Linked DNA regions of Homo sapiens: regions 1, 2, 3, 4, 5 and 6 are each linked to region 7. Evidence: promoter capture Hi-C in 16 types of primary human blood cells and fetal thymus (Javierre and others, 2016). All regions are on one chromosome and are shown on one strand. Each heading gives the region's core, a stretch centred on a gene start or on the middle of the fragment in contact. The rest is flanking DNA. Distances are from core to core; before and after follow the strand shown.

Region 1 (3,162 bases), core at 141-2,640, 430 kb after region 7:
AAAATATTCAGTAAACTATGCTATACACACATGTGCTGTCATCTAGGCTTTGCTATTCCATTTATAGAACATAGGCAGAGTAGATTTAGTATAATTCTTAAGGGCCCTAGGATTTGGGGAATGGCAAGTGAGCACAGGCTTCAACTTAAAGTCACCAGGTGCATTAGTCACTAAAGAGTCAGCCTGTCTTTGAAGCTTCAAAGCAGGCCTTGACTTCTCTCTAGCTATGAAAGTCCTAGATGGCATCTTCTTCCAATAGAAAACTGCTTTTTCATCTACATCAAAAATCCGTTCTTTAATGATCTGTTCATTCAATGATCTTAGCTAGATAACTTGCTGTAGCTTCTACATTAGCACTTCTGCTTCATCTTGCATTTTTATTTTATGGAGGCAGCTGCTTTCCTTAAACCTCAAGAACCAACTTCTGCTAGCTTCAAACTTTTCTTCTGAAACTTCCTCATCTTTCTCAAGCCTTCACAGAATTGAAGAGGGCTAGAGTCTTACCCTGAATTAGGCTTTTGCTTAAGGGAATGTTGTGGTTTGTTTGCTCTTCTATTAAGGCCACTAAAATTTTCTCTAACAATAAGGCTGTTTCTCTTTCTTATCATTCGTGTGTTCACTGAATTAGCACTTTTGCTAATTGGCGCAAGAGGCCAAGCTTTCAGCCTATCTCAGCTTTTGACACACTTTCCCACTAAGCTTAATCATTTCTAGCTTTTGATTTAAAGTGAGAGACCTATGACTCCTTCTTTCAGTTGAACAATTAGAGGTCACTATAGGGTTATTAATTGGCCTAATTTCAATACTGGAGACTAGGGAGGCCCAAGGAGAGGAAGAATGACAGGAATGGCTGGTCAGCAGAGCAGTCAGAAGTCATTCAACATTTATCCATTAAGTTTGTCATCTTATATGGGTGTCATTCATGGCACTTAAAACAATTACAATAGTAACGTCAAAGATCACTGATCATAGAGCACCACAAGAAATATAATAATGACAAGTTTGAAATCTTGTGAGAATTACCAACATGTGACAGATACGAAGTCACCACATGCTGATGGAAAAATGGTGCCCACAGACTTGCTTGACACATGGTTGCCATTAACCTTTAATTTGTAAAAATTGCAATATCTGTAAAGTGCAATAAAGTGAAGTGCAATAAAACAAGGTATCCATGTACCAAAATACTGGCCTTTTACATCTGTCTCACATATTGGCCAGCACCTCATTACTCCTTCTTGGCTTTAATCTCTCTACCTTCCCTGCCTTCCCCATGTCCCTGTCACTCTCTGTACAAGTTCTTCTTGCCCTAGCCCTCTTAAACACTCAGCTTCTGCAACTACCCACCCCTTTCTCACACACATGCTCAAAATAAAAACAACAATGCCTGTGCATAAACCTGGCCAAACCTCTCTGCTGGGAAAGGAGTAACCCTGGCAGGACCACTTCTTCCTCTGTTTGTTGGAAGAAAGATACAACCGCTGCTACTTGGGGCCCATTGCACAGAGATGGTGTCCCCAAAATGCCAATCAGGGGGCTAGACAAAGCAGGAAGGCACAAAAAGCATAAGAGCTCTAGGGCAGAGGCTACTGAGGTCAAATAAGCAGAGCCAGTAGAGCTCAAGTGGTGCTTTATAATGTGCTTATGAATTTCTGAATTAAAGATTTAGTTTTACTAATACTTAAATGAAATCTAAACACTTTAAAATCGAATGCCAATTAATGCCAGTAGTCTAGAATTGTATCAAATAAACCAAACTATCTATACTGTCATTTAATTCCAGTATCATAATTACAAGTAAATATGTGCTCCAAGGATGAGTAATCTTTTTCTCAAAGTTAAACAAGTTAGTCCATCACTGAATTTATGAAGACTTTAAATACCATAAATCTTCAAAAGAGAAATACACTATGATATGTTTCCCAAATTGAAGTGAGCATGGAATTCTCAGTGCTTGAACAACATCTCTCAAGACAAGCATTCCTCAGGCAACAGGAAAATCTCGTTTACAGAGGTAACAAACAGAAAATTCAGAATCAACCTAGATCAAGAAATATGTAGGCTCTGTTTGAAAAAAACTGCAAAGCTTGTCTGAGACACATATTTGATCTGGATATATGAAGAGATATTTTATGCTTCTAAATATTATAAAAGATATGCCAAACAAACGTTGGCAGTTAGGAAGTTAATATGATAAATGAAATATCAAATCAATGTTCAAGAGGTAGATTATTCTCTAAACAGTGCCGAAATCCAAAATAAATTCTTTAGTCTTTTACTACTTTTTTAAAAGAAGAGGAAAAACACTCAGCAGTTCAGTAACTTGCCCAAAGCTGTATTTGCTAGGCTAAAATAAATAATAAGGGCCAGGCATGGCGGCTCACGCCTGTAATCCCTGCACTTTGCAACGCTCAGGCTGGCGGATCATGAGGTCAGGAGATCGAGACCATCCTGGCCAACATGGTGAAACCTCGTCTCTGCTAAAAATACAAAAATGAGCTGGGCGTGGTGGCGTGTGCCTGTAATTCCAGCTACTAGGGAGGCTGAGGCAGAATAGCTTGAACCAGGGAGTCGGAGGTTGCAGTGAGCTGCGATCACGCCACTGCACTCCAGCCTGGTGACAGGGCGAGACCCTGTCTCAAAAATAAATAAATAAATAAATAAACAGACAGACAGACTGCATTCAAACTCAGGTCTTGACTTCAAAGGCAATGCTTTGCCCATTAAATTATCCTCCTCCAACAATGGGTTACCATTTTAATCTCAAGAGGAAGACACAAATACAAATTCCTAAGAAAAAAACAGACAAAGGGATAAACAGATGAAACACAGAATGCAGATGGCTAATAAATATGAAAGATAATTTAACCTCAGATTAATCACAGAAATGCAAGTAAAACAGTAAGATTTCAATTTTCATTTATTACAACAATGTTTACAGAAATAATTACTAATATTGAGAGGAATGCAAAATGCTAGGGTCCTTCTAGAAAATATTTTTGACATTGTAAAATAAAAGAGCCTTAAAAATATTTACCTCCTTTGACCCAGCAATTTCATTTTTACAAAGTTACCCTAGGGAAATAGGATACGTGCAAATATTTATATATAAAAATTATTTTTCAGTATTTATAATGAAAAACTGAAAACATCTTCAATGGC
Region 2 (3,081 bases), core at 462-2,961, 320 kb before region 7:
CCTTACCCAGGCAAGGCCATTCACATAATTAACAATCTCCTCTAGGTGACAAAGAACAGTGGGCTCCATGATCACTAACCAGGATATTTCAAAGTCACAGAAATTAAGAAGGAAGAAAAGGAACTCAGAAAACAGACACACTACAGTGCAGGGCAATAACCCAAGAATAAATAGGAAACACTAATGTTAATTTAAAGCCATTTGCTTCTGTTTACATGATTAATCTTTTTAAGGTAAAAAATCTCCTTAATCTTCTTTACTGATAATCTTTTAAACAGCACCAACAACTTGTTCTGCAACTAACAGGAAGCTCATGCAAAATTCAATAGCTCTGCCTAGTTTAGACTGGAGCTAGCAGGATATTCAAATCCTGAGAGGTCAGTTCAACCTACACAGTGAAGAATATTAGCTCAGCTTCTGAATGCAGCACTGCCAATTTCTTTTGATTTCTGTTTTACTTCATTTCCTTTGATGACAGAGCCCACACTTAACAAGCACAGTGAATCTTGTTAACACCACAATTTTTCCTCTGCCTCTCCTTCGTTCTTCACCCACTTCTTTCCCTCTTGGACCCACACCGTCTTTCACTAACAGGTTGGAAATCTGGGGACCACAGCAGGGTTTCCCAGACAAGAAATACCTTTCCAGTGTCCTCACAAAGCCTTTCCCCATCTACAAACAAAGCTTTGTCATGGCTCAAACCAGGTCATTAACTCATCCACTAAGTTTCACTTACCTTTTGGAAGGATCTTTCTGAAGACACAGTGAAAGTAATTTTCTAAAGGACTTGCCGTACTTTTTCATCATTTCTTTATCCTCTACCCCTGTTTCCAAAGTGGGTGGATCATTTTGCAAAGTCAACATTAACACCTGCAGCAGAAACAAACATGAAGACAGAATCTCAGTATAGCAATTGCTACAATCTAGTTTTGAATTTTTCATAAAAGTGTAAAAAACCATCCTTGATTAGATACAAAGTGCTTTCCCATGATTTTAACTTTGCAGAAATTGTGTATTTAAAGTATTCATTACCACTGCAAATGTGTTCATGCCCCCTTTAACCTTTTTGTTATTCCATTGACAGAACTTACAAAACTTGCTCTATGTGTTAAGAATGATCCCGGACAGAGCTTTCTGGGAACTGGCTCGTGTACTGCCTTGAGGAGCACGTAGCTCCAGCACAGGCTAGTTGGGAAAGCGGGTGGAGGAGAAGAGAGAGGGCCAGCGAGGCAGTGACTGTTCATGTATACAGGTCATTCATAAGTAAGGAACTGCCTGTACTCAAGGCTTCTGTAACACATTACTAGCCCTAAAAATAAAACCACAACATCCCAGGAGGTAACATGATTTCCTTTAAAAAAATGAGAAAACATACAGAAAATTGCTAAAAGGCTTGGCAAAGCTGAGAGAGCAGGACACTGAAGGATAGCCAGAATATAACTGAGTTGCTAAAAACTGTCATCAAATCCAAAGTCCTTGCTGCTTTCGGAGGGGGACAAAACAAAATAAAATACAACTTTAAATCAAAACGGTAAAAATTCCACTCTTTCATACTAACTTCAAAAGTATTTGCTTTAAAAAAAAAGTGGAAAGTGTAGAAAACTACTAGCCTGTACAATCAATAAAACTCATTAATGCATAATTCAGCCTTAATTTATGCAAATGCTATACATGTCAAGCCTCTTTTCAAACACTTTCAGATGTGTGAATAGATGAAGCGTGAAAGTGACGGCTTATTGTTTGTGGAGGATAATAGCCCACAGGAGAAAGCGGGAGACTGGGAACTCTGAAGAAAAGTCCTAGAGGACGTCAGGCTGGGACAAGCAAGTGCGACTTTGAATTCAGGTGGGAAACACTGAGAAGAGGCAAAAGAAAGAAAATGAAGAAAGAAAAACTGAATAAAAGAAAAAATCCTTCAGCATTACTTCAGTGCTTTTTCTCCAAGAGGTCACTTCAATTGTTTACGCTTCAATTTTAAATTTTCTGCTAGCAAAATCCGGTATATGTACCCACACACACACAAATACACTAAAATCCTAACTATGTTAAAAAAAATTTATATATATATATATAAAAACAATAAAATGAATTACACTGAAACCTTAGTAGAGATTGTCTGGTTGATGAGATTACGGATGATTGTTTTTCTTCTTTAGTCTGAGTTGCACATCCAAACTTTCTACAATATGAGTATACTACTTCTTTTAATCAGTAAAACTCACTTTTTATTCTTGGGTTTTTAAAATAAATCCTCCCAAATTTTTCCAGTAACCATGAAACAATCATAGACCATACTCTATGTAAAATAGCATTATAATTTCACTAAACTATTTCAGCCTCAAAACAAAATCCAGTTGGGTAAATAAGCCCTGATACCACTATCTCAGAACTAAGAGAAATAATGAGGTATAAACCAGTTAAAAGAAGAGCAGAAACGTGAAAATAGCATCCTAAAAACACTGTGGCTCACTTATATCAGATCAGTTGCCAACATTACACTATAAGAGCAGGGGTAAAAATGTTGTAGTCCACTTAAAAAGAAAGAAAAAAAAAAGCTCTGAAAATCTGGGAAACCCATTTGCAGAGATGACATCACTATAATCTATTTTGAGATATTCTCTGGGAACCTGGCGTTGTTCTGCTATCAAAAGAGTAATGACCAGCATTTGTCATAGCTATCAACCTCCATCAACCAATCTGATAACATTATTTTCTTAACTCTGTGCTGAGACTATAAAGCAAGCTTCAAAGCTGGGAATTATGCTACTTTTGTCCTATTCTGTCCACTGAGAAAATCAGACAATGTTCAACTTGGCTGCGTTCCTCCATTAATTCTCCTCGGGTCTAAGAGAAGAATGAAGATGTTGAAGAGAATTAGAAAACAGATTCCGTCCAATCACATTTCAACCCCGATGTAGTATTTCCAATTGTAATTACTTTCATGGGAGGATATTTGTGATAAGGCGCTGCTCCTGTTGCTAATTCAATGGCAGTTATTCCAAAACTCCACATGTCAGCCTTGAAGTCATAGCCTCTCACCTAAGAAAGAAAGCAGGAAAAAAACACAATCATACAGCAGGC
Region 3 (2,919 bases), core at 233-2,732, 290 kb after region 7:
CCCTTGGTACACCTTGTGCAATCCTAAAGATGTTCAGCCCTGGCACTGAAGCAGCTTCCCCTCTTCTGCACCTGAGAGTTGAACACAAGTAGCTATTTCCAAACTGATTTAAAAGGGTAAAGGGTATATATATATATATATATATATATATATATATATATATATATATAAAATCATCTTTGAAAAAATGATTATATGCATTTATATAGATTTAAAGTATGTTATTTTCTCTAATTATAAGAATACATACTCATTAGAGAACATTTGGAAAATGTAGAAAACATTTTAAATCCCTGGAATCAGAAGTACCTAGTGTTAATTACCATTTTGGCATATGTTCATTTAATCGCACTTTAAATCATGTTTTATACATATGTGTGTAAAATGTCTAAAGGAAAATTGGAGATTATACTGTACGTAATTTTTAATCTAGCCTAGGCAACATAGCAAGACCTCGTCTCTATTAAAAATAAAAGTTAAAAAAATTAACCGAGCATGATGGTGCATGCCTATGGTCCCAGTTACTCAGGAGGCTGAGGTTGGAAGATCGCTTGAGCCCAGGAGGTGGAGGATTCAGTGAGCCATGATTGCACCACTGCACTCCATCCTGGGCAATGGAGTGAGACCCTGTCTCAACAAATTTTTTTTTTTTTTTAATCTTTTGTCACTTTTCATTAAGTTGTGAGAATGTTCTCATGTCACTAGATAAAAGACATGATTTTAATGTATGAATAATGTTCTACCACTATAGATATGGATTTTTAATCATTTTTTAAAACCATTAGAAATAGTATTGAGAAAGCATTCTTGAACTTAAATCTTTGTTGGTAACCTTTATTTCTTAAAAGATAGATAACCGTAAAAGTGACTTTGAAGGTAGAGAGTTATTTTAAGATATTCTGGATATATATAGCCAAATTATTTTCTATGAAGATTTCAGCTACTTGTACCCTGACAAACTATGTATTTGAGTGGTTTCATTTTATTTTTTGATAACACAGTGTTTTCTCTTTTTTATGTATATTTGATCATATAGTTTAAATATTATCTCTTTTAATTATTAGTTTCAACATTTTCAAACCCACAGAAAATTTGAAAAAATACAGTAAATATGCATATACCCCCAGTTGCACTCACCGTTAGCCCTTATGATACCAATAGCACTTCCTACACACGCTCACACATAAACACACACACACACACACGCATTTGCCAAATTATCTGAAATTAGGCTGCAGATATCATGACAGTTCAGCCCAAAGACTTCAACATGCATGTATCCTGTTTTACTTTGTATTTATTGGATTATTAATATGGGAGAACATTTTGTTCATGTTTTCATAAGCCAGTTGTATTTCTTCTGATTCTTTGCCCACTTTTCTCTTTGAATATGTTGTGATTTTCTCATCAAAATCTGTGATATCTGTGAGTGAAAGCTGCATCAGATGCTACCCAGATGCCACCTAACCTTCTGACAAGGAGCTAGGCCCTGTACACTCAGATGGCCAATGGTGTGTAGGATAAATTTCCTCTCCAATTTAAGGTATGGCCTTGGCTATTGCTCTTTCTGCAGTGAGAGTAGAAGTCTTACCTTCAGCTTGTTGACTGTAACCATTTTATTTATGATCAGGGACTATGGAAATAAGTAATTAACATTGAATGGATAAGCACAGTTAAACTCAGTATAACTGGTGGAAACACAAGAGAGTGCCTTGTCCTGTTAGTTAAATAATTTTTTAAAATTTATTTTTAGATGAAACCCCCTGAGATTCTGTATACTGTCTTTTGAGTATTGGAAAAATAATTTTTACTAAATAAAACCACCATCTCTAAAGCCACAACTTGGAAGTGTTTGCAGTGATTTCTGCAAAAGAACTCATTGTGGTCCTACTCCTGAACCTGCACGCCCCCACCGAATGGCTGGCCTGGGGACTGCTTCAGTCAAATTGTGTTTGTATTTCTTTCTTCCTCAGTAAAGCGTTGTGTGTGCCTGTCCAAGGCTTGCCAGCAAATTGGTCACATCAGGCAGATTTCCAGCCTGGCAGTTACAGGTGGAAAAGGCTTTCAGATCTCAGGCTCTGAGTTTTGCACAGGGACTTCCCTCTCCCAAGGTCTACGGCACATCTATTTGTCTTTTTATTAGTATAACATTTAATCCCAGAAATGGCGTGGTTGGGGGTGGGGGGGGGGCAGGTATTAAATGCCATGCTGAGTTTGTGCAAGGCCTGCTCTTGGTTCACAGTATAGGCACCTGCAGTGCCCCAGGGAAGCAGATCTCTTGTGTCCTTTCTGTCTGCCCTTTTCCCACCCCCTGATTCCTGCCTCCCCCATCCCTTCCTCCCCCTCTGTCTTACCATTTCCTCCTTTCCCCAAAAGACAAGGTTTGAGGTATTGTACCCATCATTTCCAGAAGCACTCTCTCTCCTATATCTTCCAAAATTATGACATAAGAAAGTAACAGAAGAGTGCAGAACCCAGGCAGATTTCACAGTCCCTAGGCAGCTATTAAGCTCTAAATATCAGGCATCTTGACAAAGACAGCTCCAAACTTGCCAACAAACCCACATTCCAGGGGCAAAGGATATCAAATATCATACTATTTGTTTAAGTTGACCCCTCTTCGCTATCTGAATCCCCACACTCATAACCATGGATGAATCTGAGTGCTGCTTCTTTTGTTCAGACGGAATTTAAAAATCAGTTTTAGAGTGAGAAATGCGCAAGCCCATCCCATATAGGCAGGTCCTTTTCCCCAACAGGTATGCCCTCCTTTTCCCTGGCCTCCTGTCTTCTCAGCACTTCCAGGGAGCCACATGCTCACTGAGAGCTGTCTCCACCCCTTATTCAACGCACCTAAAACTTGACAGTCTGAGCAGATGGGGGAAGTAGAGTGATTCCAGCAACTGTCTCCTTTTCTGG
Region 4 (3,153 bases), core at 355-2,854, 410 kb before region 7:
AGTCAACATACAGCAAATGGGTACTTTAGATGGTGGTCAGAACTCCTAACTTGGACTAACTGCTATTCTTTCCCTGCTAAAAACATTTCCTTAACTTTAAGCTCAAGATCTTCTCTCAGAGTTGATCAGTGGAAAGAAAACAGACCTGAACTTGGTTTAGGCTCTGAAGAAATTACTTTATGTTGTATGCTGTAATTCAATGAAGATAAGCCCTTGACTTCTAAGGAGTGTCAATCTAAGAAAAAATAACTCAAGAACATTTTTTGCAACAGTAGGTCAAGCTCTCTGCCATGTTATCCAAGGTTCTTTATAGAAAGAACCAAGAGATAAATTCCACTTGAATTTGGTATCAAGCAAAAGCTTGCCTCGCTATATAATCTTTTAATCCTATAGGTCTACTTTTGTCAAGAGAGGAGGACTAAATAGACAACTATAATTTCCTGGTTGCTAACAAGCTGAAGGCTAAATTTTCTTCTCAGTGATTGTAATTATATCACTCTGGGTTCCCTGCCCAATTCTCTTTCCACTCTCAAGATATTTTTAAAATCTCATTTTAGCTTCATTTTACTTCACCTACTTTATGCTTTCATACTGTAAGTCACCTTAAATCTTCTCTGGAACAAGGCAAGGTAAAAATAAATCATTCATTTATATCATGTGGTTACATCAATGCTTACTCAACTTTCAGTTCCTCTAAATATTTCTAGGGTATCTCTCTGTCCATCTCTCTACGGAAAAGCCCTCCCTTTAAAAATCATCTTCATACTCAACCTAACTTTCTACTGTTACTTTGTATATTAAAAACAACAAAGAGATAGGTTATGGCACAATTCCTATTTAAGTCCGGTTAGCCCAGTTCAAAGGTAGGGGTTACAATGGAGTCTGGGCATTCCTGGAAAAACAGTAACAACAGGTTTGAAGGATCTTAATTCTATCTTCCTTCCTTCTTTTTTTTTTTTTTTTTTCTTGAGATGGAGTCTCGCTCTGTCACCCAGGCTAGATTGCAGTGGCATGATCTTGGCTCACTGCAACCTCTGCCTCTTGGGTGCAAGCAGTTCTCTGCCTCAGCCTCCCGAGTAGCTGGGATTACAGGCGCCTGCCACCATGCTCAGCTAATTTTTGTATTTTTAGTAGAGATGGGGCTTCACCATCTTGGCCAGGCTGGTCTTGAACTCCTGACCTTGTGATCCACCCATCTTGGCCTCCCAAAGTGCTGGGATTATAGGAGTGAGCCACTGCACCCAGCCACCTTCCTTCTAATTTTGGAGCTTTGCAGGGTCCATAGATGGGTTTCTGGGGATCAGTAAACCTATCTAAACCACCTGCAAAATACTATGTAAATGTTAAATATGTATTTGGTAGGGGCAGGAGGGGGAAGCTACAGGCTTAATCTGAGTTTTTAGGTCCCTAACACCCACAGTTAAGAACTATTATCTACCTGGCCCCTCCGTCCCCACCGCCCAACTTTACCCAGTCAATCTTCAACTACCTGACTGACGGCTATGAATACAAAATACAGTTCAAAGCCCACCTTTTACTCAGCAATCAGAGTATGTTTTCCTTTATCATTTAACTTGGTTTATTCATTTTATACCCCCAGAACAGTGTCTGAAACAAAGGTCAATTCAACAAATGGAATTAATTAATCTGAGGTGTTCTATTTATTACTCATTGATGGCAAAAAAAAATCACTCATCAATAACTAATAGAGGCAAGTAATCTGGAGGCTGATGATTCCTAATTTTTAAATTGAAAATAAATACAAACCCCAGTAACAGAATCAATTAAGTGTGTATATACAGCAAAAAGGCAAACAAACAACCCCCAAAATGTAGTTAAACGATATTTCCCTACTTGATTAAATCATGTTGCAGCTGCTTCTAAATTTTAAAACACAGAAGCAATGCAAATGTGAATTTTCTCTGCAAATTCTCCTTGCAGGAGTGACACAGCAAAGAGGAATATAATAGGTTACAACTAACTCAGAAGTACAACACAGGCACAATTTCTGACCACCAACAAAGATGTAGGAGGCTGCTAACACAACCATAGCCCTTTCTCAATTCTTTTCCTGGTTTCTGACCTGAACTTTGTCATTAGCACATATTACTCTGTGAAGATTTTGATCATCTCACAATTTCTGACTTCGTACTTGCAGCAGCCTTATTATGTATGCTTCAAAGCTAGAGGATTTTAATTTCCATTTTTTATTTGCACTCAGGAGGCTGCAGATTATCCAGTATAGAAATTCCCTAGAGTGAGAATCTCTTTATATAAAATAATTCCCTACACTCGCAATTCTTTATATTAGAACAATAATAGATGTAGGCATTATTATTGAGGATTTAGCTAGAGGAAAGCAACCTCTCAAATAGAACAGCACTTTATCAAAATAATTATTATTCCTTTCTCTGGGGAGGTTGTGTGAAAGCCCTTGTTCATCTCTGCAACATGTTAAAATGTATCACTTTTATATGGCTCCTTTTTTTCATGAAGTAGGCAGCAGCACAAGTAAATAACAATAGCTGACTTTTGAGAGAAAGGGGAAGATCCTTGCAATACTGTTGAGTATATCACGGGTATTGTCACTTTAACAGCAGAGATAACCTCCCTTTAAGGTAACCTTAGACTTAATGGACCTTTCTACAGTTTCAACACCAATAACATAGTAGAGATTAGGATGGAAAAATAGATATATGGTCCTTTCCTTATCACTCAATATGCAACTTGAAGTCCAAGGCCACTACGATAAGTTTGGAGTCCTTAAACATGGTGATTTACTGAACATCATAAAGTCAATTCTAGCCTAAGAGAGGTTACTGGGCATCAGCTTGATTTGTCCTTAAAGTAAGCTTGATAAAATACTGAAATATGACCCAAAGACTGTTTATAAGAAAGATGCTAACACTGAAAAGATCAGCCTCTAATAATTATCTAAGAAACAGGAAGGAAAGTATAAAAGGACCAGGAGTTTAGAAAAAGAGAAGAAGAAGATTAAAATGTACACTGCACCAAATCTACAAATACCCAAATTCATGCACTTTGTTGCACTGTGGTGAGGCAAACCCAAGGGAACCAGTGACAGCTTTTTGGGAAGGTGAGCGAAGACCTGTTTGTCTGCAGTGGAAGGAGAGGCCAACTGCATGCTGGGCA
Region 5 (3,306 bases), core at 558-3,057, 450 kb after region 7:
TTTTGTAAAAGTGCATCCATTCCCCTAACTGTGGTTGCTTTCATTCCCTACTCTGTTCATATGTTAATGAAACAAAGCGGAAAGAAGAGTCAGTAGAGTGGTGCCTAGAGTTAGTGCTCTGTGTCACAGATCACCCTTCTCCATCCACCAGTAGAGCCACAGAGTAGGCACAGACCAGAGGCTTCTAATCCGACTTCACAGAATAGCGGCACAGGCCCCATTCCCCATAGAGATGTTTAGTTTGGCCTTCGCACTGGTCTTTTTTTTTAATCCTTCAGTTACCAATATTTAGATACAAGAATATTTGACATAAAAATCGGAAGTTCTGTATTTCTTGAAAAATCTGATAGTATGACAACACAGAGCCTGCATCCCCAGCTGGAGACAACTGACCAGAGCTGCATACTAACAGTCCCCAGTAGGAGGCAAGGACTCCATTTTCTCACAGTCTTCAGCATCCCAGCAGGAGCCCCACTATGATTCCTTTATCTTCTTAAGGCCAGGCTGCATCTGATTCCTGTTGACATTTTAGTGGGGACCACAGCCATATCCAGTTTCAGTTTTCAGATGAGGAAATGGAAGCCTATTTAGGTAAAAGAACTTGCCTGGAGTCACGCCACCTTCAGAGCAGGAATTAGAACCCAAGGCTTCTGACACATATCCCCATTACACTGTGTGTTTGAGTGTGCACACATGCACATGCTTTTTGTTTGTATGTTTCCTTTTTAGAACCAGGGACTTGCTCTGTTGCCCAGGCTGGAGTGCAGTGGTGGATAGCGGCTCACTGCAGCCTCAAACTCCTGGCTCAAATGATCCTCCCTCCTCAGCCTCCCATTAGCTAAGACTACAGGTGTGCACCACCATGCCTGGCTAATTTTTGAATATTTTTTAGAGCCAGCTTCTTACTATATTTGCCCAGGCTGGTCTTGAACTCCTGGCCTCAAGGAGTTCCCTTGAGGATGTTCCACCCATGTCAGCCTCCCACAGTGCTGGGATTGCAGGCTTGAGCCATTGTATTAATAGTTGGCCTACACTGTCTTTTGTTTCTTCATTTACAAGAGGTAAAAATCAGTAAGAATGAATGCTTTCATTTAGATTCTATGATGACTGCCATATAAATCAGCTACCTTTTCAGAAATGACATTGAAATACTGCATCCTCTTTGACTTATACCCCACACATACATGCAGGGTCTAGGTGGGACCAACAGTGGCTCCAGATGTATATACACACGGGTCCAGGGACAACAGAACAGGCCAGGCTACAGTATGGACTTGAACCTCTGCTTCACTTCTGGTCTCTGTTTTACAGTAGTGCTCACCAATATTTCAATAAATTCTACTGAACTTACTCTAATAGAACATTATTCAACCCCCAAAGACTTATCTCTTCACTATGACATCTCCATACTTTATTTTTAGGAGACAGACTTTCAAAACCAGAGAAATCAGGTGCCTTCCTCAAGGTCATGCTCCAACCCAGGCCAACTATTAAATGCTTGCATCTGTTAGCTGGATTAGTCTCTATGTATACTGAACTGTGATGAAAATCTATAGCTTTGTTTTAGAAAATTATTGTTGATGGACTATTAATATTATATTAACAATTTCTCAGTAAGTGTGTTTTTTCCTCATTGAATCTAGGAATGCTGGGCTTTAAGTTGATAACTGTGTCATTTCAATCAAGTACAAGGATTTTGAGGCAGATTTTGCTAGATATCTTAGTAATCCCCCACAATGTTTTATGTAACTCTTCTCAGAATATCAATACATTAATTATTTTAGATGACATATTAAATAATCTATGAATATTAATGAAAACAATACAGTTGAAGTGAGTGTTGTTTAACATGATAGTAGCTGAGGATAACAAACCTCAAAAAATCAAAGTATTAATTACTCCTTTCCAAGTATATGTATAGAGCATGTGTCATTGCTTTTATAAAACGCACTTAATAGCTTTCTTTCTAAAAGGCAACTGAACTTTCTAAAAGGTAAATAAACTGAACTTGATATTAGTGGTTCGGTGATTCCAAAGCAAAAAGCTGAGGGATTAAGAAAGAATAGCTTAAGAATGAAATTTGTCTCATGTTGCTGGGACATTTGGGATGAAAGAAGTAGAGAAGAATGATTCTTCAGGTGATGACCGTTGCTCATTGGTTCAGTCCCACCCTATGTCCCACCATGCTGTACCTTTAGATGCCTTCACATTTCATGATACATTTGTGTCATTACATCTTCCACACATCAGAGATCTCATTCCTGTCTAAAAGCCCTTTGCCAAATTTCACATAAGATAATGTTAGTCTTGAAGGATTCTGGTACATCCCCTTCATCCTAGTACAATCTCAGCCTGCTTTCAGCAAGGCCTGAGGAAACCGGCATTAATAGCCAGGGAATTCTGCAGCAATGATTGACTCTACCATAAATCCGTTCTCCGTTTCCATGGAGAAAGCTATCTTCAGCCACCCCATGGTGCTGTCTGTTGGGCAACACATTACCCTCAGAGGGGACTGGGATGAAGTGTGGGCTTGTTTTCTATAATTAATCCCCAAGAACTCTGCCCCTATCTTCCATAAAAACCCCAGAGTCCCCATGGGAGTAGATTTCCCTCTTTATTCTAGTTGAAGTCTCCTGGAGGGATCCATATGGTGGTAAATTGTTTTTGCAATTGAAACGCCTTAGGCAGCAAGAGGAATCGTTTTTCACAGCCTTGGAGAAAATGCCTGCCCTTAATAATGATGGAAAAGACTCTTCTGTTTCCAATTTATTTGTCAGAAGTAAGTGGAATTGAGCTCATTAAATACTGTTACTATAACCATATATTCAAAATGTCTACCTATCTACATATTCAGGAGAAAAATGTCAATACCATGAGCTTTTAGGATGAGAAAATCTAGACAAGAAAATCTGACTCAAGAGAAAATCTGACTCAAGAAACTGTCCAATCAAACCTACATTTGGAAAAAAAATACAAAATAATTTATTATTGCTGAAACTAGCTATCAGGAAGAATATTAGTTCCTTTCCTTTGACAACCTATTGATTGGACATCTGCCTAAGAAGGTTAAGTTGGTGCCTTCTTTAGACATATTTCATTATAAAACAGATGGTGATTAAAAGAATTGTTATAAGATGTCCTTGAAACTAAAAGTCAAATGTTGAAATGCTTTACATTTTTTCAAAATTTTTAAATAAATTCAAGATCAAATTGGTACATACATACAAAAATCTTGGTTTAAGAAAAAGTCAAGTGACTTGGTTCTAAAAATGAGATTCTTTTCTTAAGTATTTTAAAACTGTATAT
Region 6 (2,978 bases), core at 343-2,842, 470 kb after region 7:
TTTTTAGATTACAAAACTTAGGCACAGGGAGGTAAGAAAATGGTGCGAGGACAAGTAACAAGCAGTGAAAGTGAAATCTGAATCCAGATGAAAGTGAATCTTGCTCTCCTCTAAGTCCTTGCCTTGACTACTTCTCTTCCTTGCCTTCCACAACACGAGCTGTTTCCTTTCCCTGCTTCCCTTGCCTCCTGAGGAATGCTCCTTTAAGCCAGGTGAGACCCATGAAAACCTGCTTTGTCTTTGTGGAGACAAAGTGCTCAGAGAAGGGTGCCACGGGCAAGTCTGTATGAGGACAATGCAGTAAACCAGCTCCATGACAGTGCCTTGCCCAACATGAGTAGCTATTCAATAAGGGTTTGTGGGATAAATGAATCTTCCAGGAGACACACAATCTTTGCTTTTGATCTCTGGATTCAGCAAATAGTAATTTCCATGTGCTTATAGATTGGGCTAACAGGTAAGAACTGGGCCAAGAGCCTAAAACTTAGGAGACTTTGTGAAAAGAGCAAACAAAAAGCCTTCCACAAACCCACAAAATTTATAAACATAATCACTTATAAAGAAAAACAATTTTCCCAGGGATATTTTTAAAAAGTAAGTAGAGAAGGTTAAAGGTAAAATTTGGCCCTACAATTTGGTTTCCATGTTGTAATTTTTCTTGTGATCAAAACTAAGAGGGACTTTTGGTGGATGGAAAAATGCAGAGTCAATATTGCGCGAAATCTGGACTTGGGTTTGGCAAAGTAAGAGACAGTAAGGCAGGTGTAACTTACCCACCACCCACGGTACACATTGCCAAGTAATGAAATAATGATGATGGCAGTAATACCAGTGGCCGCTTTCATTGTGTGGCTATTAAGTGTGTTTTCTTCATTTTAACGTTATTTTCTTGCATTTTGCAGATGAAATAGACAATCTCAGAAAGGATAATTGTCCCAAAGCTATGAAGCTACTAAGTGGCAAAGCTTGGATGCAAGCCCAGGTCAGCTCCAAATCTCAGGTGTTTCCCCACTATGCTAAACTAAAGCTCAATGTACAAAAAAATTCAACAAAAATAGCATCCATTGCATTGGGCAATACAATACTTTCCAAAATTAAAGAGTATGTTGATGAAGGATATTTCTTTTGCTTAAAAAACTAAGACAGTCCAGGGGCACTGTGAAATAAATTGCATATCCTTTGACCTTCTAGAGCCACAATCATAATACAGATTGAATATTTCTTATCAGAAATGCTTGGGACCAGAAACGTTTCAGATTCTGGATTTTTTCAGATTTTGGAATATCTGCATATAATGAGATACCCTGGGGATAGGACTCAAGTCTAACCACAAAATTCCTGTTTCTTATCTACTTTATACACATAGCCCAGAAGTAAATTCCTATAATATTTTTAATAATTTTGTACATGAAACAAAGTTTTGACTGCATTTTGACTGTGACCCATCACATGAGGTCAAGTGTGAAATTTTCCACCTGTGGAATCATGTTGGCATTCAAAAATTTTTGAATTTTGGAACATTTTGGATTTGGGATTTTCAGATTAGGGATGCTCAACCTGTACACTCTGGTCATTCTACTTCTCCCCATCCTTGTCTCTCATAGGGAATGGCTCTGACTTCGTACTCACCTCTGGGAGTGACATGACAAAATCATGCAGCTGAGCCTGTTTTGCAGCTGCTATGACTCTTTCCATGGGAATTTCTTTGGTGTTGTCTCCATACTTGATATTGTCCATTATGCTACAGGCAAACAACACTGGTTCCTGGGAAACAATTCCAATGTTTGAGCGGAGGAACTGGACATTTACTTTTTTGCTGTCATGACCATCTATCATCTGCCAATAGAGGAGATGACAGGTCATTAGGTTTTTAGAATTCCAGCAGTGAGGAAAGTTCATATTCTAGCATTAGGTGTTATGCAGGACATTTGGTTTGCTTAACAGACTAACAATCCCAAGGCTAAAATTATGGAATAAATTATGTTGCCTTTGACCTCTGGATGTAATGTCTATCAGGAGTGGCATCCATGTTAACACTAATCAGACTATGGTCCTATTTATTTCCTGAACTCTGGCTCTACAGGTGGGGCAAACGAGAAAGACGCTCAGGTATTCAGGTAAGAAACAACGTCCCCTTACTTTGGTGCAGCACACTCTCTACAAATATACAGGGTTGCTCTATTTTGAGACTCATGAGTTATGGAAAGGATTTTTCTCTGTGAAGCTTTTGGGCAATATAAGGGTCAAACCTGTTTTCTTGATTTTACTAACACCATTCTCTGCATAACTGAGATAATAAAACCAAGTAAAAAAGGAATACATTTATTCACTTAGTCAATCAACAAACATATATTTGAATCACCTGCCACAAAGCACCATCCTAAGCCATCTATGTCTGCTACGTAAAGAAAATATAATCTCTGTTTCCTAGGAACTCACAGTCTAGTTAGGCAGTTAAGTCCAGGTACTTGAATATCTACCACATGAGCTGATTCACTAAAGAGTCCTAGAATATTAAAGGCACAGATGCCTAACGTGCTACTATAAAGTATTTGGCCCTATTATTTCAGAAAAAAATTGTGATAAATGGTATGAACAGATTATATTTAAGATAATTTCTAAGTAATGGAAAAAGCAAACACTATTAGAAAAAATATAAAGCATTTCTCAATAACAATTAGCCCTGGCTTATCTTGCTCTACTCATTTTCCATAGCACTTAAGTCTGCAAAACACAATTTAATAATTAAACACTCAGGCTGTTTGCTCATTCTTCTAAATGTGCTACATTGTAAGCTCCTAGAAGGCAGAAGACATGCTTCATGGTCCTTAGACTCTCCCACAGGGACTCATGCAGTAACAGGCACATCATAGGTATCCAAATAAATGTTGAAAATATTGAACGCCTACATTTGGTAGATTAAGAGCAAAGAGGACTTTGAAAAAAAAACATAAAAAGTGGTAGGTTTTCTGCTTAAA
Region 7 (3,241 bases), core at 71-2,570:
ATCACAGGTGACCTTGGGCAGTTTCAATGCAGCAGAGGAGACAAATGTCCAAATGGAAGTTCAAAAGAAAATGAGGGGAGAGAAATTGGAAGCACCAGTATAGGCCATTCTTCAGTTTCACTTTCAAGAGATAGAGTGGAAAGAGGGGAGGGAAGAGTAAAAGAAACTCCCTCTCTCTGTGTGTGTGTGTGTGTGTGTGTGTGCGGTTATATGCCCACTGGAAAGGTTTAGTATAGCCTACTGGCAGCACCAGGCAGAAAATGAATGTGAGAAAAATGAACAAAAATGCCCCAGAACCATGTATACATGGGCCATGGAATGAATTCACACATGGCTCCTGTATCAATGGGGAAATGCATTGCGGGAGGGAAGGTGCCTGGGTTAGGCCTCACAGGCCTAATGCCTTAAAGGTTTTAGATTCAAAAGGCAGAAATAATGAGCCTGCCGAGTAGCACAGTGGAGGTTCTCATGATGTGCCAGGTCAAAATGTGGTCTAGCAGCCTTTTCAGAGAGGTTAGTTGAGAGGGGTGGTTTTACAGAACGCTGCAGTTGCTATCATCATCATCATCATCATCATCATCGTCATCAAGTAGCAATTAATAATCAAATAGCAATTAAGTGCCTAATTTTTTGTACCACCTCATAAATCAATATAGGGGGGCTTGTTCCCTGGGGGAGCTACTTTGATGAGAAGCAGCAGTATAAAAGACCGGAAAGTCAAAGATTGGGGAAAGGCAGGCGTGGGGCAGAGGCAGAAGGCTCTTGCCAAACCATCCTGCCTCAGTTCCTGATTTTTCACCCTGCCTCTCCAAGCGCGGGAGTGGAGGATCCTTTCCCTCCCACTTCCTCCTTTGCTCTTTACCCCTCCCCCTCCCCCCCCCTTTTTTTTTTTTTGCTGTCCTCCTGGAGCAGGGCTGGTTCTGAAGCTTGGCGGCAGCCCCTACCTGCTGACCCACCGCCTCCGGGCGCACGGGAAGAGGACTGAGAGCCCTGAAACCCCAGCGGGGCAGGAGCCAGCATTCTGAGCATGTGCGAGCCAGCCAGGGGGCTAGGGCGGATTTGGGGGGTCGACTTTAGGTCGTCGCCCTAAGCGCAAAGCGAAAGAGCGGTGAGAGCAGGGGCGGGCGACACTCCCCGGAGCGGTGCCCCTGCGCCCAGGGCGCAGCGACTGCGCCCTGCCCTGCGGGTGTGGGCGAGTTGGCCGCGTGTGTGCCTCGCTGTTTGACGCGAAGACGAGCCAATCAGGGCGGGCGGCCCGAGCTGCCATGTGACGGGCAAGGCGGCCCCTTTCCCCAGCGCGGCCAGAGGGAGGAGAGAACCGGGGCTCGCCGCGAGCCTTCGAGAGCAGCGGCCGCGGAGGAGGCGGCGGCGGCGGGCGGGAGCAGCGGCGGCGGCGGCACAGGCTCGGGGCCAGCCGGGCGCGCATCCCCGGGCGCCCTGCGCGGTGGAGAGCTTGGCGGGCTGCGGGTGCCGCAGGACAGGAGTGGACAAAGCAAGATGGCAGGGATCTTAGCCTGGTTCTGGAACGAGAGGTTTTGGCTCCCGCACAATGTCACCTGGGCGGACCTGAAGAACACGGAGGAGGCCACCTTCCCGCAGGCTGAGGACCTCTATCTCGCTTTTCCCCTGGCCTTCTGTATCTTCATGGTGCGGCTCATCTTCGAGAGGTAAGAAGGGCTGAAGCCCCTCCTCCCCTCCCCCTGCGCACACACACGCGCGCACACACTCGCGCGCTCTCTGGCGCACGCCCCCGCGCCCCCAACGCTCGCGTTCACGCCTCCCAACCTTTGTGTTCGGGGAGGGGTTGCTGACCCCCCTGCCCCGCTGGCTTTCTGGGAGCCAGAAAGGGTCTGGCTTGCCACGGATTTCCTCCCGGGCGCCGGGGAGGAGCCGCGGAGCGTTAGGGTCGCCCCCTGCCCTCCTCCTGGGCCCTGCTCTCCTCCCGGCAAGGGCAGGCGAACAAAGGTGAGCGGTGGTCGGGCTCAGGACCCGCCGCATTCCGCGGGGCTCGCCCCTCTCCGCCGGCGCGCCACGCAAGGCTGCCAGGCAGGGCTTCCCGCCGGGGCCCGCGCCACCCACCTGACAGCCAGGAACGTTCCGGACGCGCGGCCCGGAGGGAGGAGGAACCGCGCACACTTCAATCTTTATGCTCCGGCACACGGATTGTAGGGGTTGTGCTTCAAAAGAATTCGCCAGGGACTTCCTGGCTTCTGGTCGCTGTTTGGTTTTTATCCGTGAAACTATCAGGCCCACAGTCCTGGCAAATAGGGGATAATAGCATTTCAGGTTATTAGCGGTTTCTTTAAAAGAGGATGTGACAGGACGGGTCCACATCCTGCAAAATGGTGATATTAAACTGATAACCCTGTCCTGTGAATAATCATAAACTTCTTTTTTGGTACTCGAAGGCACTTAAAATTTTGAGGAATTGTCATGCAATTGTATAGTTCCTCGGTTTGGTTGGATATCTCCATTGTGTCACATACAAACTTGTGTTATTCTCATGGAATTCGTTTTCGTCGCGAAACTAGATTGTGCCTGCCATGCATTCTCTGGGTGCTACTGAAAGAAAACCAGGACAGCAGCACACTTTTTTTTTCGTAACAGAAAATATTATCTTCCCCTTTCTTGTACCCTCCCCTTCCTCTGCCCAATTCATCAGTAAAGGCTGAATTTCTTAGATCACAAAGTAGAGTTTAGATTGCATTTCTCGCTTCCACTCCGCCTTTCTTCCCCGCCTTCAACTCACCTTGGTTTTGTTTCTTAAGCTTTTGCTGGTACCTCATTTGCTGTTCCTCTTTGCCTGAAAACGACTGTTGAGGGTGGCAGAACGCGTCTTTTGAGTCATTTGCTGCTGGACGAGGCAACAAAGCTTCATGGGGACAAAAAGTATCTTTTGTCTCAGGAAGGTATATTTTTCACCGGACAGTATTGTTGCTTGAAAACGAAGTCAGCTGTTCGCCTGCAGAAATTGACATGCACAAAGCAACAGACTTTAAGACCTATGTTTAAATTATTGGAATCTAATACAGATGTGTCATTGATCCTATACAAAAAAGGATCAAAAAAGTCACAGCAGTGCTGTGAAAAAATGGGTGTGTTTGCAGGTGTAGAGTTACCTCTAGAGCAAATGTTTGGTTACAGAAAATATGAACTCTATACAGTTTTGCAGGCTCTCCAAAAACAAGCAGACTCAGGGATAGCAGGTTTGCTCTATGTTGGCACATAGTAGGGGATCTAC

Evidence for each region. The method cuts DNA at HindIII sites, captures the fragments that hold promoters and counts their contacts. A CHiCAGO score of 5 or more calls a contact.
Region 1: a contact is called between a fragment that was not itself captured here and the fragment with the promoter of CERS6 in region 7, in 3 of 17 cell types (fetal thymus, erythroblasts and naive B cells). The highest score is 6.5, in fetal thymus.
Region 2: a fragment that was not itself captured here is called in contact with the fragment with the promoter of CERS6 in region 7 in 2 of 17 cell types (total CD4 T cells and activated CD4 T cells); the score reaches 5.8 in total CD4 T cells.
Region 3: a contact is called between a fragment that was not itself captured here and the fragment with the promoter of CERS6 in region 7, in 10 of 17 cell types (non-activated CD4 T cells, naive CD4 T cells, naive CD8 T cells and 7 more). The highest score is 20.7, in non-activated CD4 T cells.
Region 4: a fragment that was not itself captured here is called in contact with the fragment with the promoter of CERS6 in region 7 in 1 of 17 cell types (naive B cells); the score reaches 5.1 in naive B cells.
Region 5: a contact is called between a fragment that was not itself captured here and the fragment with the promoter of CERS6 in region 7, in 4 of 17 cell types (erythroblasts, total CD4 T cells, naive B cells and 1 more). The highest score is 7.4, in erythroblasts.
Region 6: a fragment that was not itself captured here is called in contact with the fragment with the promoter of CERS6 in region 7 in 2 of 17 cell types (megakaryocytes and erythroblasts); the score reaches 8.5 in megakaryocytes.

What each region holds. Positions count from the first base shown.
Region 1 is chr2:168,879,961-168,883,122 of GRCh38, forward strand. All of the region lies in intron 3 of SPC25 (SPC25 component of NDC80 kinetochore complex), which reads right to left. Among named protein-coding and RNA genes, the nearest start is that of SPC25, 8.9 kb to the right of the region's middle. The HindIII fragment of the contact is 1,387 bases long and covers 698-2,084 here.
Region 2 is chr2:168,137,352-168,140,432 of GRCh38, forward strand. STK39 (serine/threonine kinase 39) reads right to left here. Exons shown (of 18, transcript NM_013233.3): 7 at 2,938-3,039; 8 at 737-870. Among named protein-coding and RNA genes, the nearest start is that of STK39, 110 kb to the right of the region's middle. The HindIII fragment of the contact is 2,059 bases long and covers 683-2,741 here.
Region 3 is chr2:168,746,652-168,749,570 of GRCh38, forward strand. The region is part of intron 8 of CERS6 (ceramide synthase 6); the gene reads left to right. Among named protein-coding and RNA genes, the nearest start is that of CERS6-AS1, 38 kb to the right of the region's middle. The HindIII fragment of the contact is 6,559 bases long and covers 1-2,919 here.
Region 4 is chr2:168,041,631-168,044,783 of GRCh38, forward strand. The region is part of intron 14 of STK39 (serine/threonine kinase 39); the gene reads right to left. Among named protein-coding and RNA genes, the nearest start is that of B3GALT1-AS1, 100 kb to the left of the region's middle. The HindIII fragment of the contact is 2,492 bases long and covers 359-2,850 here.
Region 5 is chr2:168,907,984-168,911,289 of GRCh38, forward strand. G6PC2 (glucose-6-phosphatase catalytic subunit 2) reads left to right here. Exons shown (of 5, transcript NM_021176.3): 5 at 1-2,017. The coding sequence ends at 96. Among named protein-coding and RNA genes, the nearest start is that of G6PC2, 8.3 kb to the left of the region's middle. RefSeq lists an enhancer at 1-755. The HindIII fragment of the contact is 5,946 bases long and covers 1-3,306 here.
Region 6 is chr2:168,925,527-168,928,504 of GRCh38, forward strand. It overlaps ABCB11 (ATP binding cassette subfamily B member 11), which reads right to left. Exons shown (of 28, transcript NM_003742.4): 26 at 1,630-1,836. Among named protein-coding and RNA genes, the nearest start is that of G6PC2, 26 kb to the left of the region's middle. The HindIII fragment of the contact is 1,259 bases long and covers 964-2,222 here.
Region 7 is chr2:168,454,952-168,458,192 of GRCh38, forward strand. It overlaps CERS6 (ceramide synthase 6), which reads left to right and starts at 1,321. Exons shown (of 10, transcript NM_203463.3): 1 at 1,321-1,667. The coding sequence starts at 1,498. It overlaps LOC102724081 (a long non-coding RNA gene), which reads right to left. Exons shown (of 4, transcript XR_002959433.2): 1 at 2,080-3,241. RefSeq lists silencers at 913-1,132, 1,163-1,252, 1,373-1,502, 1,953-2,012. The HindIII fragment of the contact is 1,842 bases long and covers 925-2,766 here.